Regions from separate parts of the Homo sapiens genome. Here all the other regions are linked to region 3. The links are contacts of gene promoters, found by promoter capture Hi-C in human tissues and cell types (Jung and others, 2019). All regions are on one chromosome and are shown on one strand. The core of a region is centred on a gene start or on the middle of the fragment in contact, and the rest is flanking DNA. Distances in the headings are between cores, read along the strand shown. Region 1 has its middle 4.9 kb from the start of SLC25A52. Region 2 has its middle 33 kb from the start of SLC25A52. Region 3 holds the start of TTR (transthyretin).

Evidence for each region. Contacts are between HindIII fragments. The study calls those that stand out against the background at their distance.
Region 1: a contact is called between a fragment that was not itself captured here and the fragment with the promoter of TTR in region 3, in 4 of the 25 tissues and cell types used here (IMR-90 fibroblasts, aorta, lymphoblastoid cells and 1 more).
Region 2: a fragment that was not itself captured here is called in contact with the fragment with the promoter of TTR in region 3 in 4 of the 25 tissues and cell types used here (dorsolateral prefrontal cortex, heart left ventricle, small bowel and 1 more).

Annotation. Positions count from the first base shown.
Region 1 is chr18:31,763,448-31,768,069 of GRCh38, forward strand. No RefSeq gene overlaps it. Among named protein-coding and RNA genes, the nearest start is that of SLC25A52, 4.9 kb to the left of the region's middle. The HindIII fragment of the contact is 6,923 bases long and covers 1-4,622 here.
Region 2 is chr18:31,791,139-31,795,856 of GRCh38, forward strand. No RefSeq gene overlaps it. Among named protein-coding and RNA genes, the nearest start is that of SLC25A52, 33 kb to the left of the region's middle. RefSeq lists an enhancer at 1,433-1,492. The HindIII fragment of the contact is 3,101 bases long and covers 1,282-4,382 here.
Region 3 is chr18:31,588,913-31,593,126 of GRCh38, forward strand. It overlaps TTR (transthyretin), which reads left to right and starts at 2,965. Exons shown (of 4, transcript NM_000371.4): 1 at 2,965-3,059; 2 at 3,984-4,114. The coding sequence starts at 2,991. The HindIII fragment of the contact is 7,126 bases long and covers 904-4,214 here.

The DNA.
Region 1 (4,622 bases), core at 1,422-3,921, 170 kb after region 3:
ATTGAGTCTCATTGCAGTTAGTTGGTCTGAACCAATCACTGGGATCAGGGGGATGGAAAATGATACTAATCAAACCTGAGTCACTTGCCTCATCCTGCACTTGTCAGGTAAATGGGGCAGAAGGAGGTAAACCTCCCATCCCGCCCACCACCCAAACCACTGGGACCTAGAAAGGTATTAGGAGGTGTTCCCCTCTGAAGCCACACAGCCCACTGCCATTGGTGCAGATGAGAGGAGCTGGAAAATTGCTTTGGAAGTTGAGCCATTGCCACCTTTTTTTGGTCCAAGCTTGCAGTTTCTTGGGCAATGTAACTATACAGTTTGAAATCAGGCAACTCAGGCAGGCGCGGTGGCTCACACCTGTAATCCCAGCACTTTAGGTGGCTGGGGTGGGGGATCACCTGAGGTCAGGAGTTCAAGACCAGCCTGGCCAACATGGTGAAACCCTGTCTCTACTGAAAATACAAAATTAGACGGGTATGGTGGTGCACACCTGTAATCCCAGCAACTTGGGAGGCTGAAGCAAGAGATTCACTTGAACCCAGGAGGCGGACGTTGCAGTGAGCTGAGATCACACCATTGCACTCCAGCCTGGGCAACAAGAGCGAAACTCCATCTCAAAAAAGAGAAAAAAAAAAAATTAGGCAACTCTACTGACCGATGGCCCAAGTCAAATATGTTTGGTCACAGTCCTAGATTCCAGACCCTTTATTGCGGGATTTTTGTCTCAGCACAGGCCCTAATGCTCTGCTATCCCACCTAGTCCTCAACCTAGTGTTGTCCATGCTGGCTGCCCCAGGGCAGAACCAGCACCCTCAAAGCACAGATAACTTGGCCCTTGCCCCTTGGTTATGTCTGATGGGTGACTCTTTACAATGGAGACCATTGTCACCCTTCTCAGGCTGCTAAATGTCTGCAAGATGTTTGGGAGAAGCCTAAAAGAACAGGAATGAAGCTTCTCTCTGACTCCTATCTTATCTTCTGATATGTTTTCCACACCCTAGGCTTTGTGAGAAGTAATATTAGTTGATGACAGAGAACCCCACTTTTCAATTCAGCGAAGCTCAGAGACGTCTAATCTAACTTTCTATTATTTTATTTATTTAATTTTTTTGAGACAGAGTTTCATTCTGTTGCTCAGGCTAGAATGCAGTGGCACCATCTTGGCTCACTGCAACCTCCACCTCCCAGGTTCAAGCGATTCTCCTGCCTCAGCCTCCCAAGTAGCTGGGACTACAGGCACATGCCAAGACACTTGGCTAATTTCTGTGTTTTTAGTAGAGATGGGGTTTCACCATGCTGGCCACACTGACCTGGCCTCAGGTAATCCCCCAGCCTCAGCCTCCCAAAGTGCTGGGATTACAGGTTTGAGGCACCACGCCCAGCCAGGGACATCTAAGTTTCTAAGTTGATGGCTGTAGGAAGAAAGGGCCTCCTGTAGCAAAGCTGTCTTTTCTTCCCTTGCTGCTTTCAGATTGCCCATTTCTAACAAAACTTGTTTTTCTGGTAGGACCTAACCGAAGGCTACAAAATAAATTCATCTTATTCCATCAGCCTGACATTTTTCTACCATCTCTCTTTAACTTTCAACTTCAGTAGGCTCATGGTCAGAGCACCAAGAGAAAATAGAATAGTTTCACCACTGCCTTGCTATTACTGCACAACAAAATTGCCAGCTTCCTGCCCAAAATCGAGAGGTCCTCACTGCCCCTATCCCATCTTGACTGAGCCACGTCTCTATTTGACAATCTGCAACATGTACTCTCTCACCTCCAGATACGAATTTAGAAAGTGTTCAGAGTCTTGTATTAATTTGTTCAGGCTGTCATAACAAAGTACCATAGACTGGGTGGCTTAAACAAAAGAGACTGATTTCCTCACAATTCTGGAGGCTGGAAGTCCAAGACAACCGTGTTGGCAGGGTGGGTTTCTCCCAGGGCCTCACTCCTTTGCTTGCAGATGGCCACCTCATTGCTTCATCCTCACATGGCCAACTCCCATTCTGTGTGTGTCGGTGTCCTAATCTCCTTTTATAAGGACACCAGTTATAGTGGATTAGGGCCTACCCTGATGAGCTTGTTTTAACTTTATCTCTTTAAAGATCCTATGGAAATACAGTCGCATTTTGAGCTACTGTAGTAGGTACTGTTAAGACTTCAACATATGAATTAAGGAGACACAGTTCAGCCCCTAGGAAGTCTTTCAGTGACAAAAATGCCACTCAAACTGGCTTGAGCAAAAAGAAGGAATGCGTTGTCTCCCATAACTGAAAAGTCAGTAGGGATTGGGCTAGGCTGCATGCAGGGTCATATAACGTCAGCACGAGCCATTTGTCTCTTTTGATTATATTTTTGCGGATTGGCTCTTTCTGTGGTACAGTGATGGTTGGAAACAGCTCCATGTGTACAAACTGTTAGTTGGGCAATGTTATTTGATATAGATTCACTTTACATATAGTTCCAGAAAAGGCTTAGGGTGAAAACTCATTGACCTAACTGGAGTCACATGTCCAACAATGAACCAGTCCATATGGCCAGAGGAATGAAATATATCAATTGCCCATACCTGAATATCAAGCCCACATCTAAAGAAAAAGCATCAGCCCATCCAAGCTAAGTGAGCTCAGACAAAAGGCAGTAATGTATAGAGGTTAGCATCAAAGAGTCTGGAATTTGACCCCTGGATTCAAATCCACACTGACCAACTGTGTGACCTTGGGCAAGTTACTTAACCTCAATTTTGTAAAGCAGGACTATAGGAAATCCAACACCTATAATAACACGCCTCTGTATTTCTTACTGTGCAAGATAACAATGTACTTTCACTTTTTGTTTTTTCTTATTTTTTTTTTTTTTTTTGAGACAGAGTCTTGCTCTGTCACCCAGGCTGGAGTGCAGTGGCATGATCTCGGCTCACTGCAAACTCTGCCTCCCGGCTTCATGCCATTCTCCTGCCTCAGCCTCCCGAGTAGCTGGGACTACAGATGCCCACCACCATGCCCGGCATTTTTTTTTTTTTTTTTGTATTTTTAGTAGAGACGGGGTTTCACTGTGTTAGCCAGGATGATCTCAATCTCCTGACCTGGTGATCCGCCCACCTTGGCCTCCCAAAGTGCTGGGATTACAGGCGTGAGCCACCGCGCCCGGCCTACTTTCACTTTTTCTTGACCACAAGTCAAAAGTCATTTTATCCCAAAATGCCCTTAATCAGAAAAAAAACAACAACAACTTTGGAGCCTTCTTGATATTCCTAACAGGAGAAGAAAAAGCAAGGAAAGGAAGAAAAAATATATCCATTAGAATGTTTTTGACAGCAAGTAATAGAATACCTGCGAAAGTGGTATAACAATAAAAATATTGGTGTCTCACTCACCAAGAAGTCAAGAGGAGGGCTACCCCAGAGGTCACACAGTCTTAGCAATGTCAGAGCTCTGACTCCACATCCCTGCCATTTCTTGGGCCTTCCCCCATGCAACGTGACAGCTGCAGAAAATCAAGTATAATGTCCTCTGATGACACTGTTCAAACTTGAAAGGAAAATAGATTTCTCTTTGTAACATGTTCTTCTTTTAGATGAGAGGAAGACATTTCTAGAAGACCTCCTCTTACATTTTCTCTGTTGCATGCCCACCCCTAGATCAGTCACTGGCAAGGAGAATAGAATTACCACATTAGCTGAGACCAGCCAGGGCATATGGCACTCCAGACAAAATTGGTGTCCTGTTAAGAGGAAACAGGAGTGGCAGATGAGGAGGTAACTGATGGTGTCCGCTAATGACACAGAATAAGAAAAGAAAGGAATGGAGAGATAAATCAAAAGAACCAAGAAAAACAGTGATATACAAAGGAAGCAGGTGGATGAGACCACATGTGCTGCGGAGGAAGCATAGCATCCTCTCCCTCAGACACTCTTCCTTATCCTCTGTCATCCATCAATTTCTCAGTAGCATTGGGGGCATTTATGATTCACACCAAAGGCAGCACAGCACAGTGATACAGATAAAGCCCTGGATTAGCATACTAGCTGTCTATTGCTATGCTGGGGCTCAGAAAATAGTACCCCAAAATAAAGGACTTAGATGCAACCTCAGAAGCAAAAATTTTTCTTTGTTCTTCTCCTCCCCTCCTGTCTCTCAGTCCCATCCTCTCCCGAGGCTAGCCATAGAAACTAGAATTCCTCTTCCCCAAGGTGGGTAATAGAAACCAGAGCCCCTTTTGGTCAAAGTCAGCCATAAAGCCTGAAAATATCACTCTAACTTTCCCTCCATCTTTCCATGTAAAAACTGGTCCTAGGGAAATTACCTGACCTAAGTTTTTTGACTGTAGGTCCTTAAGATCTCCATTCCAGAGAGGGCCCTGCCCCACACCCAGGAGGAAGGAATGCTGCTCAGAGAGGCCAAGAAGAATCTAGACGGGCAGGCCTTGTGGGCTTTCCCCACTCAGTCTATTAACCTTAGATCAAACCCTTTGTGTCCAATCATATTCCCATATGGATGTCTACATTTTGTTGAACCTAAGCATAAAAATGGACAATGTCTCCTGTACCTTTGGGTCTTCATTCTGAAGGCTCATGTATACACATGTTAAAGAAAGATGTATGCTTTTTCTCTGACTTAGCCAGCA
Region 2 (4,718 bases), core at 1,582-4,081, 200 kb after region 3:
TACTGCCATTAAATGGCAGTCTTTTTAGCCTAATGTCACAACCTGCCTTAGACCCAAAGGATAGTTGCATATAAAGCCTTCCCTTTCTATTCCTCCTGATTTGGTGCCATCCTTCGTGGTGCTGTGCCTGGGTTGCTACAGGAGTATATAGAAACCGCACACCACCACTGTTCTATCCTTTCACCCCCACGACTAGTGTCCTTGTAAGAGGAGGAAGCCCCAGGGGTGCACACTCACAGACGAAAGACCATGTGAGGACACAGTGCGAAAGCAGCCACCTGCGAAGCAAGGAGAAAGGCCTCAGGAGAATCTAACTGGGCCTGAGCTTTGATCTTGGACTTGCAGCCTTCATCACTGAGAGAAAATAAGCTTCTTTGAAGCCATCCAGTCTGCAGTATTTTGTAATGGCAGCCCTAGGAGACTAACACAGAGGGCATGGCCCAGGATCTCACCTTCGTCTTTGCAGGACTAAAATCTAATTTTGTTTGTTTACATGATAGATAATCATTCCAGAACTGACTCATATTTACCAAACTCATAAAAATTTGCTGTGTAGACCAGAAGAATAATTTGATTAACATAGCAAAATAAAGCCTCCAGGAGAACTGGAGCGCACTCCGTCGATGCCAGTGCATTCTCTCCCTGTTGGCAAATATTTGGGAAGCTAAATTATTATCTGAAGGTCACTTGGTGAGCATGGTTTTAAAAGAAAGAGAAGTGGAGAGTATTGAAAGACATTGCTGTAACTCAATGCTGCCAGTGACATGGGCCTGTGACCACAAAATAGGTTTACATCCTCTTTGCTTATTCAACTTATTATGACTCTAACACCCACTGGTCCACTTCCTTCAAAGCGCCTTGCCAGTTATTTGTGGGAGTTTCTCTAGGTCTTGCCTCAAGGGAACTATGCCACAGATCCCTGTTGCTTCTTAACCCTCAACACTGACCATCTTTGTAAAATAGCCACCTGGTGGGGACAGCTGTCCCTCATGATGCCCACTCTAATGCTTCCACTCTGCCCTCAGTGTGGGGACCCTGTTGCCACTAATTCCCCGGAGGACAGTTCAGACCAGACAGTGGCTTTTATTAATTTTTAGTAAAGTAGGAAGACAGAAAATGATGTGGAAACTATCTTATAACTGCTACTGACCATAACCTCAAGAGTTCCTGGAGAGCTTGCAATAGACCTCCTCATAATAAGAGTAGGCCTGACTCCCCAGGCACCTCTAGGCATCCCCACAAATTAAGTTCAGACCCAATTGCACCCGAGGGGATGTCCTCTCCCACTCCGTCCTACCTCAGGATGACTGGCAGTAGAAACAGGTATTCCCCGCAGGGGAGGAACCCTCACACTCACCATGTGATGTGGCTTCACGGCTCAGACACTGCAATAGCAAAAGCCAACACTACCCTCAGTCTTAAAACCTCCCTTTTCTTGACACTTCCACCTTCTAAAGATGCCAAGTATATGGATGTGACTGTGAAATGTGCCCAGATAAATTTTAAGGAGATACAATATTGACTCCTGAGTGTTAAACCAATAAATTACAACATAACAGATGTGATTCACCCTGTTCAAAGGTTACTTTAGAGGTTATACTTTCTCCCAGGCCATAAACAGGAATAACACATAAGGGCAACTGATGCTTGATTGGACACAAAAGGAGACTAGCTTTATCACTGCTATGGACACATCGGAGACAGAATAGGTGAGCAGAGGATGTTGTCTATGTGACGGTAATAGATGGGTATTGGATAATGAGAAGCCATTCATCAGAGCCCAGGAAGAAGAAACCCAGAGCCTGGGAAGAAGAAACACTGAATCTGAGAAACTCAGTCACCAGAGAGTACTTTTCTGGGAAGCTGTGGTTTATGGAAAAGAAGGAATGCAGGTTGGAAAAGCAAAAAGAGAGCAGAGGACAGCTGCTTCCTAATTCCACAGGTAGCTCCCACCTGGGCTATCTCTAGTGTATGGCTCTTGAGACTTCATATTTATTTAGATTCTGCTTTACAGTTTACAAAGGGCTTCATATGTCTCTTATATGCTGAGGAAAGATAGTGGTGTTATATTGCTGAGGGAAACTGAGGCAAGATTTTAGTACTAGTAGAACTATAGAACTGATCTAGCACCCAGATCTTCAGCTTCCAATTCAAAGACATTTCCCCTCTAGGATTGCTGATCCAAACCAGAAGCTTGTCTCCGCAGCTTTGTCTGCCCTTTCTTGTCAAGCCTCCTCATGCCATTGCACTTTCCTACTTGCCTTGAACACCTTCCCTTTATATTCCTCCTGATTTGGTGCCATCCTATGCCTGGGTTGTTACAGAGAGTATATAGAAACAGCACAAGGCCATTGTTCTATCCTTTCACCCTTTGAGATGCAAGCACTATTTATCTTGGAATTTTTCATTTGGGTAATAACTAGACAAAGAATTACAGTACCTACTCCTTTCCTCCTTCAGCAAGGAGTCCTCAGGCAAGGTAACACTACTGGGGCCAGGTTCTCAGAAGAGAAGACTGTGAGAAGGAGGAGGAGGAAGAGGAGGAGGAGGAAGAGAGGAGGAGGAAGAGGAGGAAGAGAGGAGGAGGAAGTGGAGGAGGAGGAAGAGGAGGAGGAGGAAGAGGAGGAAGAGGAGGAGGAGGAGGAGGAATAACAGCCATTTATCATTCTTTGTATTGTTAGCTGGTGAAGCAAAATGGATACACTTTGTCTCTACAAACACACATTACAGCCAATGAGACATAAAAAAGGTGAAAATGGGCTACATTTTAAAAACATTATTTGCCTTGCATATTTTTATGAGTCTCCTTGACCCTGAAACTGAGGAAAAAATAACCTTCAAAGCAGAGAAGGGAGGTAGTGAAAGCAAACCAAACCAGAATACGAGATGAACATCATTGACATCAGAAACCATCTGCTGGTCTTTGTTGTTAAGAAAAACCCGTTAGCCTGGTTTAATGGGGACAGATCAGACAGCATGAGGTGGATTGTGCTGAAAGAAAACATGCAACTATCCCCCTATCCTTTGGGTATAAGGCAGGTTCTGACATTAGGCTAAAAAGACTGGCATTTAATGGCCCTGCATTTGCATAATGACCTTCCTTCTGTAGCTTGTGATATCTCAGCTAATTGCTTTAGAACACTTCTGCTACATCTGGGGTTTTTTTGTTTTTGTTTTTGTTGTTTGAGACCAGCTTTTCACTTGTTTCCCAGGCTGGAGTGCAATGGCGTGATCTCGGCTCACTGCAGCCTCCGCCTCCTGGGTTCAAGAGATTCTCCTGCCTCAGCCTCCCGGGTAGCTGGGACTACAGGTGCCCACCACCACATCCAGCTAATTTTTATTTTTTATTTTTGGGGGTTTTTTTTGTTTGTTTGTTTTTGAGATGGAGTCTCACTCTGTTGCCCAGGCTAGAGTGCAGTGGCATGATCTTGGCTCACTGCAACCTCCAGCTCCCGGATTCAAGCATTTCTCCTGCCTCGGTCTCCCAAGTAGCCAGGAGTACAGGTGCGTGCCACCACGCCTGGCTAATTTTTTGTATTTTAGTAGAGATGGGATTTCACCATGTTGGCCAGGATGGTCTCCATCTCCTGTCCTTGTGATCCACCCACCTCAGCCTCCCAAAATGCTGGGATTACAGGCGTGAGCCACCACGCCTCGTCCATCTGTTAGGTTTTACTACTTTCTAATCCATTCAAAATCCTCACTACCGGCCAAGTCCCAAGCCACTTAAAATTTTTGGAACATGAGGTTGTATGAACCAGAATTCATATGATTCACCTGGTGAGATATATGTGATGTGCTATCAGAAAGAAGGTAATGCCCAGAGAGAACACAAAGTCATAAAAAAAAAATCCTGATTTCTATGTCCTCTTATGTCACAGGGATGAGCTTTGAACAAAGCTTTGTTCCTTCCCATTGAGCTAGAGGAATCTTCCTGTGGATAGAATCTGTGATTCTATGAGTCAGGCAGTTCTCAAACTCCTCTGTGTAACCTGTAACTGAAGAATAAGGAGGTTCATAAATTTGGAAAGGAGAGCTTAATTTCTCAGCAAGACTTGCAGCCTGTATGGTGGCAATTCTGACAGGCTGGGAAGCACAGCCTTCAGTCAGAAGCCAGAAACAGACACTTTGAGGGAGGGGGAAGGGGAACAGGAATTTATGCAAGCAGGGTGGACAATTAGCCATAGATAAATATATCTTAGTTCTTCAGGTAATTCTGATATGAATACCCCCCACATTTAAAAAGCTGTAGGAGGAGTCATGAATATTTATGAGAGGAGAAACGTGCATGTGCAGCTGAGCTTCATGCCCCTTCATGGGTCCCAAAAAATGTCGGCATTGGCACGATCCGATCTTGGCCCTCTAACATCAAAAAGTAAAGTAGAGGACACAAAAACCCTCACTATGCATCCTCTGTGGACTGGCCAGAACCAATCTGTGGTAGGTGGTCTATCATTAGGAAGGAAGCCTGATTGGTTGTGGTGTCAACACTGCAAAAGGGAAGGGCAGCATCTGGCTGTTGGCTGATATCTGCAGTGGTGTCTTTCAGAAAGGCTGGTTTCTGGCCAGTCAAGGTGGCTCACACCTGTAATTTGAGCACTTGGAGAGGCTGAGCAAGAAGGATGGCTCGGGCCTAGGAGTTTGAGACTAGCCTGGGCAACATGGCAAGACCCTGTCTTGTATTTTTTAAAAACTTTAAATAAATACATAAAAATTTA
Region 3 (4,214 bases), core at 1,715-4,214:
ACAAAGCCTAACCATATCAAGGATCAAGTGGTGGGTTGAAACTAACAGGATGAGATATATCAGATACAAACACAGGGTCCCATATTTGGGTTAAAATTCATAAATGATCAAAGCACAGGATGACAGATAATATAGGTCATTTTAGATTATTGTGGCCAACAGATCACAGTGGGTAGTGTTATGACGAAGGGAGGGTCACAGTTACTACAGTTACAGATGGATTCTGGGTACAACATTTGCACTAAAGTGCCTTTGCCAAGGGAGGCAACAGTCTCGACATCCTGTGGCCTGATCTACTTCAGGGACTGTGTCTTGTTCAGAGCATCACATTTGAAGAGAACTTTGACCAAGGGGAATATGCCAGAAAAGGAAGTTCGGGATGCTGAGGATCTTAGGAACTATGTCTAAACAAGATTCATTCACAGAAGTGGGAATGTCTATTTGGCAAAAAGAAAATACTACTTACATGGCTGTTGGAAGACCAGCAATCACAAACTCAGTTTTTCAAAAGGCTGGGCAGAAACACAGATGAAAGAAACAGGCCATGTTTAAGAAAAGATAAAAGCTCACGCATGATATGCCACTAGAGAATCACCTAGCCTCAGTGTTGGCGGGGAGGCCTGGGGAGTCTTGATGTCTGAGAGTGACATTCTGATGATCACTGTCATGTGTAAATGTTGGCCTAAAGCTGCCAATATTTTTGATTTAAGAGAAGCAAGAAATGCAAATTTTTATGCAGCATGTCTCAATTTTTAATTTTGGCAACTATTACAAAATGTTTAAAGAGACTCTGTGCAGCCCAAATATAACATATCTATGGGCTGATGGCAGCCCAGCGTTGCCAGTTCACAGGGTCTACAAGAGATGATTCTTAGTTTCAACAGGGTGCAGTGCTGAAACGCGTGCACAGTAGATTTTGCTTCGGTTATGAAAGAACTTCCAAATATTTATGATTCATAGCCAGAGAAAAGGCTCTCTATCCAGGTTCTGAACAATAGGAAATCATCAAGAGGATATTGGATGACAATATATGAAAGATGTTATTTGAGAAAGGATTCTCTCCTGAGGCATAGATGTTGAACCAAATTCTATTAGTTATGCTTTTACAGCAAGATAGTGGTTTACAGCTTACAAAAGGCTTGTACATCCTCTCATATTAAAAGTTATTAGAACAGTCCTTTGAAGTAGAAAAGTAGGCATTTCTATTTTACAAACGAGTTGGCCGAGTATCTGAGATAGTAGATAACTCATAGAAGGTCATCCGGGAAACGGGGCAGCAGAACTGGGATCGAATGACTCTGGTCATCCAACTCCAAATGCAAAAGTCTTTCTGCTGCTGCTTCCTAGTTAAACTCTAAGGGTCTAAGACTCCATTCCTAGTTATGGTCTCAACTACATTTGCTCATTGCTGTGAGGGGTCAACCCACCTCCCGGAGTCCTCTCCTGCACATTCTCATGTTCCTGAAAGGCTTTTCTGTCCCTTCCACTACTCCCTGTAAGCTCCTGTGCTTCACAATTTCTTGTTGAATTTTTTCTAATCTGACTCTATCAGTTATGGGAATGTTCCCTCAATTCTTAGTGCTCCAAACCGGACTTGCTCTTGGCTTGTATTTGTCCAAAATATTTGTCTTCTCTATGTTTTCTACATGTTTGTCTTATAAGGACAAAAACCTGCCTTAGTTTATCCATGAACAAAGCCACGCATGCTAGTGGACACACACACACATGCGCGTGCGCGCGCACACACACACACACACACATACACACAGAGACTTTGTATGTGAGTAATGAATCATCAAATCATCATAATTTCTGGACTTGTATTAATAAGTCGGCCAGGAGGAAAAGAATCTGCTGTCAATCATGGCTTCTGGTTCTCACAGTCATCTCTACTTTCTTCCAGCAAGTTTGGTTCTGTCAAAAACCAGCTGTCAGCCTTGTTCCTGCATGCCCAATGCAGAAGAGTCAGTAAAGAAGATTTGGTTCTCTGTATTTCAGGGGCATCAATGCCAGGTTGAAATATGCCATTCTGGCCCAGCTCAGTGGCTCACACGTGTAATCCCAGCACTTTGGAAGGCCAAAGCGGGTGGATTGCTTGAGCTCAGGAGTTCGAGACCAGCCTGGGCAAGAGGCTGAGGTGGGAGGATGACCTGAGCCCGGGAGGTCAAGGCTGCAGCGAGCTGTGATCGTGCCACTGCACTCGAGCCAGGGCGTTGGAGTGAGACCCTGTCAAAAAAAAAAAAAAAAAGGAAGGAAAAAAGGAAGGAAGGAAGGGAGGGAGGGAAGATGCCATTCTTAGATTGAAGTGGACTTTATCTGGGCAGAACACACACACACATACACACATGCACACACACATTGTGGAGAAATTGCTGACTAAGCAAAGCTTCCAAATGACTTAGTTTGGCTAAAATGTAGGCTTTTAAAAATGTGAGCACTGCCAAGGGTTTTTCCTTGTTGACCCATGGATCCATCAAGTGCAAACATTTTCTAATGCACTATATTTAAGCCTGTGCAGCTAGATGTCATTCAACATGAAATACATTATTACAACTTGCATCTGTCTAAAATCTTGCATCTAAAATGAGAGACAAAAAATCTATAAAAATGGAAAACATGCATAGAAATATGTGAGGGAGGAAAAAATTACCCCCAAGAATGTTAGTGCACGCAGTCACACAGGGAGAAGACTATTTTTGTTTTGTTTTGATTGTTTTGTTTTGTTTTGGTTGTTTTGTTTTGGTGACCTAACTGGTCAAATGACCTATTAAGAATATTTCATAGAACGAATGTTCCGATGCTCTAATCTCTCTAGACAAGGTTCATATTTGTATGGGTTACTTATTCTCTCTTTGTTGACTAAGTCAATAATCAGAATCAGCAGGTTTGCAGTCAGATTGGCAGGGATAAGCAGCCTAGCTCAGGAGAAGTGAGTATAAAAGCCCCAGGCTGGGAGCAGCCATCACAGAAGTCCACTCATTCTTGGCAGGATGGCTTCTCATCGTCTGCTCCTCCTCTGCCTTGCTGGACTGGTATTTGTGTCTGAGGCTGGCCCTACGGTGAGTGTTTCTGTGACATCCCATTCCTACATTTAAGATTCACGCTAAATGAAGTAGAAGTGACTCCTTCCAGCTTTGCCAACCAGCTTTTATTACTAGGGCAAGGGTACCCAGCATCTATTTTTAATATAATTAATTCAAACTTCAAAAAGAATGAAGTTCCACTGAGCTTACTGAGCTGGGACTTGAACTCTGAGCATTCTACCTCATTGCTTTGGTGCATTAGGTTTGTAATATCTGGTACCTCTGTTTCCTCAGATAGATGATAGAAATAAAGATATGATATTAAGGAAGCTGTTAATACTGAATTTTCAGAAAAGTATCCCTCCATAAAATGTATTTGGGGGACAAACTGCAGGAGATTATATTCTGGCCCTATAGTTATTCAAAACGTATTTATTGATTAATCTTTAAAAGGCTTAGTGAACAATATTCTAGTCAGATATCTAATTCTTAAATCCTCTAGAAGAATTAACTAATACTATAAAATGGGTCTGGATGTAGTTCTGACATTATTTTATAACAACTGGTAAGAGGGAGTGACTATAGCAACAACTAAAATGATCTCAGGAAAACCTGTTTGGCCCTATGTATGGTACATTACATCTTTTCAGTAATTCCACTCAAATGGAGACTTTTAACAAAGCAACTGTTCTCAGGGGACCTATTTTCTCCCTTAAAATTCATTATACACATCCCTGGTTGATAGCAGTGTGTCTGGAGGCAGAAACCATTCTTGCTTTGGAAACAATTACGTCTGTGTTATACTGAGTAGGGAAGCTCATTAATTGTCGACACTTACGTTCCTGATAATGGGATCAGTGTGTAATTCTTGTTTCGCTCCAGATTTCTAATACCACAAAGAATAAATCCTTTCACTCTGATCAATTTTGTTAACTTCTCACGTGTCTTCTCTACACCCAGGGCACCGGTGAATCCAAGTGTCCTCTGATGGTCAAAGTTCTAGATGCTGTCCGAGGCAGTCCTGCCATCAATGTGGCCGTGCATGTGTTCAGAAAGGCTGCTGATGACACCTGGGAGCCATTTGCCTCTGGGTAAGTTGCCAAAGAACCCTCCCACAGGACTTGGTTTTATCTTCCCGTTTGCCCCTCACTTGGTAGAGAGAGGCTCACATCATCTGCTAAAGAATTTACA